Linked DNA regions of Homo sapiens: region 2 is linked to region 1. The links are contacts of gene promoters, found by promoter capture Hi-C in human tissues and cell types (Jung and others, 2019). All regions are on one chromosome and are shown on one strand. The core of a region is centred on a gene start or on the middle of the fragment in contact, and the rest is flanking DNA. Distances in the headings are between cores, read along the strand shown.

Region 1 (2,700 bases), core at 180-2,679:
CTCAGCCGCATTGGGCCGAGGCGCGCTCCCCCGCGGCCCGCCGGGTCCCAGCCACTGAGCATGCCCAGCGCCTCGACTGCTGAGTGCCCAGCCAGCATCCTGCAGTGCCTGGGAGCCTGAGGCCGAGGAGGGTCCCGGCGTAGTAAAGGGGCGGCAACCCCAAACGGGCCAGGCATCAAAATGAGACAGCATTAAACCGAGTGACATCTCTGTGGGTCCTTAGTGCCAGGCGAGCAAGCAGGGACAAACTGCTTGTTTATAGGTCGGCTTAAAAAATAAAAAAACTCTGGGGAGCGTTTGTTTGTGGGGAGACTGATACCGCAAGGTGACCCTGAAAGGGGCGCTTCAAGTAGACCCAGGCTGCTGATCTGGTCCACTCATGAAGTAACCATTTTCCTGTACAGTTGAGCTGGCACCATCCTTGTTTTCTCCCTGTTATCCTTGTGGTCAAGGTTAAAAACTTATAGGGTGGTTCAATGGGTGTGGGAGCTGTGTGTGAAACAAACATTTCAGCCAATATTTGCACAGTAGGGTTTTGGCCTTATGAACCCTCTGAAGGTCCCTAACAGCTTTTTAAAGTCACGGATAGACTTCGGAATATGATAAGGGACCTCTCATTTCCCCTCCCCCATGCCCTCAGCCTTAGGTGTGAGTCCCCCCGTCACACGGATGGGCAAGGGGAGCAGGAGAAAAGGTGATATTTACATTTTCTCCCTACTTGATCAGCAACTAATTCCACAGCGCCGGACGTGAGACACTTCCTGGGGATCCCTGTTCTCCTTTTGTAGTGACCATAACTGCCCCCAGTCACTGCCCTTGGGCGTCCCTCTGTTCCTTCCAGGTACCTCACGGCAGCAAATCTGGGGATCCCAAGGTGGAAGGCTGGCCCAGAAGTCCTTTAGAAAAACCTTAAAAAATACAGATCCCCTCACCATGGCCTATCGCCCTGAAGCCGAAATCTAGCTTTTAAATTTCCTGGGGGAAACAGCCTTGACTAGAAACCTCCCTCCCGTGGGTCAGTCTTACCTGATAGGTAAGAGGCAGCCCAGCTCCGGCGCCCCCGCCTCCCCCCGGCCTCCCACTCGGGGCTCTGTAGCCGCAGTGCCCCCCCGTGGCCCCCCACCCTCACTCCTGCGTCTTCCCGAGCTCGCCCCCTCCCGTTTTCCCAGACTCCCCTCGTGCTTTCGGGTAGCCACCCAAACACCCCCGCCTGCGCCCGCCGCGGGGATTCCTGCGGGCCGGGGGCGCCCCGGTTGGCGCGCGTGTAGGGAGGCGCTGCGCCGGAGCTGGCGGCCGCGCAGGGGCGCTGTCCTAGCGCTGCGCCGGGGTCGGCGCGGGCGCCGCTGCAGCACGGCTGGGGGGCGGAGAGGGGCGGGCGCGGGGCGGGCTCGGCCCGGAATGTAGAGACCCGGGCGGGAGCCTCCCGGCGGCGGCTGCCCGGCTGCCGAGCGCGGAGGCTCCGTCACGTGTTTTTCTCCTCCGAGTGAGACGGCGGCGCGGTCGGAGGGGGCCGGCGCGCAGAGCCAGACGCCGCCGCTTGTTTTGGTTGGGGCTCTCGGCAACTCTCCGAGGAGGAGGAGGAGGAGGGAGGAGGGGAGAAGTAACTGCAGCGGCAGCGCCTCCCGAGGAACAGGCGTCTTCCCCGAACCCTTCCCAAACCTCCCCCATCCCCTCTCGCCCTTGTCCCCTCCCCTCCTCCCCAGCCGCCTGGAGCGAGGGGCAGGGATGAGTCTGTCCCTCCGGCCGGTCCCCAGCTGCAGTGGCTGCCCGGTATCGTTTCGCATGGAAAAGCCACTTTCTCCACCCGCCGAGATGGGCCCGGATGGGGGCTGCAGAGGACGCGCCCGCGGGCGGCGGCAGCAGCAGCAGCAGCAGCAGCAGCAACAGCAACAGCCGCAGCGCCGCGGTCTCTGCGACTGAGCTGGTATTTGGGCGGCTGGTGGCGGCTGGGACGGTTGGGGGGTGGGAGGAGGCGAAGGAGGAGGGAGAACCCCGTGCAACGTTGGGACTTGGCAACCCGCCTCCCCCTGCCCAAGGATATTTAATTTGCCTCGGGAATCGCTGCTTCCAGAGGGGAACTCAGGAGGGAAGGCGCGCGCGCGCGCGCGCTCCTGGAGGGGCACCGCAGGGACCCCCGACTGTCGCCTCCCTGTGCCGGACTCCAGCCGGGGCGACGAGAGATGCATCTTCGCTCCTTCCTGGTGGCGGCGGCGGCTGAGAGGAGACTTGGCTCTCGGAGGATCGGGGCTGCCCTCACCCCGGACGCACTGCCTCCCCGCCGGGCGTGAAGCGCCCGAAAACTCCGGTCGGGCTCTCTCCTGGGCTCAGCAGCTGCGTCCTCCTTCAGCTGCCCCTCCCCGGCGCGGGGGGCGGCGTGGATTTCAGAGTCGGGGTTTCTGCTGCCTCCAGCCCTGTTTGCATGTGCCGGGCCGCGGCGAGGAGCCTCCGCCCCCCACCCGGTTGTTTTTCGGAGCCTCCCTCTGCTCAGCGTTGGTGGTGGCGGTGGCAGCATGGCGAGCCCTCCGGAGAGCGATGGCTTCTCGGACGTGCGCAAGGTGGGCTACCTGCGCAAACCCAAGAGCATGCACAAACGCTTCTTCGTACTGCGCGCGGCCAGCGAGGCTGGGGGCCCGGCGCGCCTCGAGTACTACGAGAACGAGAAGAAGTGGCGGCACAAGTCGAGCGCCCCCAAACGCTCGA
Region 2 (2,700 bases), core at 181-2,680, 1.7 Mb after region 1:
ACCGTGTCTCATATATGAGCAATGTCCTTTGGGAGCCTTCGGGTAAGCGCTTAGAAGGAGATGAAGTGAATGAGAACATTGAAAGGGAGACAAATTTTGGCTTAGGAATCTGTTTTATCTCATCCCAGTGGCTGATACTGATGTTGTATAATTAAAGATATCAATGTTTCAAAGGGAAAGTAGTGTCATACCTTGAAGTAATCACTTTTTGAATGGTGATTTCATTATAGAATACAAGTCTATCTTACAGCTGGTCACTCTACAAAACCGTTCTGAGGGAGAGTTATTATTTCTTTTGTATGGTTTTGCAATGGGCCAAGCGGTATTCTTGATGCTTTTCTCTTGCTTTTATGTTATGTGTGTATGAAATCTCAATATAGATGCTTATATAGTTCACTCTACAAAGCACAGCTGTGAGATTATTGCTTACTATTACATTAAAGACAGAAGCACAATTGAGCGGCCTGGATACAGTGAATAACTAATGAGAGCTATGATTGAAATGCCTTTTTCCCTCTTCCACATTTCCAAATGCAGTTGCAAAAACAAGGCCATTTGCATATGCTATATGAGTGGAGTGTGATCCTAAGAGTTTGTATACATCACACCAAATCTGGGCTTTGCTATTGTTATCTTTGTTAGTCAAATTATAAGTTTATCTACTCTTATTGTTATTGATACTCTATTCTTCTATATAAGGTCTCCATCTTTAACTACAGTACTATTTTAAAAAAATCCTAAAAGGTAGACATCATTTTAAATATACACATACATAAACACTTTACTATTGAGTCAGCTCCTCCATTTACAGAATGTAATTGAGTATCATGTTCATATTGTAAGAAAAAGTAACGAGAAAGGAAGGAAAATAGAAGGAAGGAAGGAAGGGAGGAAGGAAAGGATAGAGGCAAGAAAGAGAGAGAGGAAAAAAACTGAGGAAAAGAAAGAAGGAAAAGAAAGGGAGGACGGGAGGAAATGAAGAAAGAGAAAGGAGGAAAGATGGGAGGAAGGGAGGGATGAGAAAAGAGAGAGAAAGAATAAAGGAATAAAGGAAACAAGGAAGAGAAGGAGGAAGAAAGAAGGAAGATACAAAGGACAGAAGGAAGGAAAGAAGAAGGATGGAAGGGGAGGAAAAAGAAGGAAAGAAGCGAGGGAGGGCAGGAGGGAGGGAGGGAGAGAGGAAGGAAGGAAGGAAGGAAGGAAGGAAGGGAGGGAGGGAGGGAGGGAGGGAGGGAGGGAGGGAGGGAGGGAGGGAGGAAAGGAGGAAAGGAGGAAGGAAGGGGAGGGAGGGAGGGAGAAATATTTTAATGCTCTTTAACATGCTAATTTAAAACTAAAGCCAGCCCTCTGCTGCAACCTGCTGACAGACTGGGGAACTACAAATGAGAAAATATTTAGTATTGGCAATAACAAATTTATTATAAATACTTCGTTTCTGAATCCTGCCGTCTTTATAATTTTATTTAAAATAATCTAATTAGAATATGCCTGAGACAAAGCATCCATGTTGGTTTACAATAAAAAAATTGACTAAATAACTGCAATAAAATGTATAAACGTTAATGCACTTCATTACGTAGGATATAGACGAATATTCCAAGTAAGAAGGTTATAACCTGGCTCCTAGCCAATTCCTCCATCCCCGCTTAGTTAACGGCACTTCAAAGAAGCGCATTTCCACACAGATAAAACCACGATGGGGATGGAGCACAGATGAAAATCGCTCTCTAAGGGAAGGCTGTCCTCCGCTTCCGCTTGACGATCCATATTTGACTGGAAGCTCTGAGACTATACCTATATGTTTAAAATAGCTAAAAGTAATGTAAAAAGGACAAAATGCTTTTAAAAAATGTGTTTTGTTGAGCTGTACATAGAAGCATGGATGAGGCTCTGGGGCAGAGTTTTCTGTGTTCTGGCAACTCTCCCTGGTGAATCCTTTCAGTCAAAACTCAAGAACCTACACACTGACCAGACATTGGTGAAGAAACCGTGGAATGTTAAATGTATGTTTAATAATACACAAAGCTTTTTTAATTGAGGGAGAATGGGTTCTTTCAGAGAAATATATATAATGTTGGTACGGTTTGGATCTGTGTCCCCACAAAATCTCAGGTCAAATCATAATCCCCACTGTTGGAGGCGGGGCCTGGTGGGAGGTGACTGGATCCTGAGGGCGGAGTTCTCATGAATGATTTAGCACCATCCTCTCTTGGTACTGTAGAGTGAGTGAGTCCTCGCGAGATCTGGTTGTTTCAAAGTGTGTATCACCTCTCTCTCTCTCTGGGTCCTTTTCCTGCCGTGTAAGACACCTGCTCCACCATGAGTAAAAGCTCCCTGAGGCCTCCCCAGAAGCAGATGCGGCCGTGCTTCCTGTACAACCTGTGGAACATTGTGCCAGTTAAATCTCTTTTCTTATAAATTACCCAGTCTCAGGCATTTCTTTATAGTAGTGGCAGGACAGACTAATACAAATTATATTATGTAATATTTTATAATACAGTGTTATATGTATTCTTTTAAGAGACTTTATGTTTTTGCTAGTAGGCTGGAGGGTGAGACTTTAGATCTTCTGGAACAGGATAAAAATAAGCATTGAAGAAGAAAAGCAAATCTCAGTTGGAAGGAGCCCCACAAAGATGAGGTGTTAGGCTCCTAGAGAAGAAAGGCTTCCAGGTAGTCCTATCTAGGGCTGTGGGAGCA

The links. Contacts are between HindIII fragments. The study calls those that stand out against the background at their distance.
Region 2: a contact is called between a fragment that was not itself captured here and the fragment with the promoter of IRS1 in region 1, in 1 of the 25 tissues and cell types used here (dorsolateral prefrontal cortex).

What each region holds. Positions count from the first base shown.
Region 1 is chr2:226,798,549-226,801,248 of GRCh38, reverse strand. IRS1 (insulin receptor substrate 1) reads left to right here and starts at 1,429. Exons shown (of 2, transcript NM_005544.3): 1 at 1,429-2,700. The coding sequence starts at 2,511. It also overlaps a transcript of RHBDD1 not described here. RefSeq lists silencers at 1-100, 1,061-1,130, 1,151-1,570, 2,561-2,610. The HindIII fragment of the contact is 12,102 bases long and covers 1-2,700 here.
Region 2 is chr2:225,121,719-225,124,418 of GRCh38, reverse strand. No RefSeq gene overlaps it. Among named protein-coding and RNA genes, the nearest start is that of DOCK10, 81 kb to the right of the region's middle. The HindIII fragment of the contact is 6,487 bases long and covers 1-2,700 here.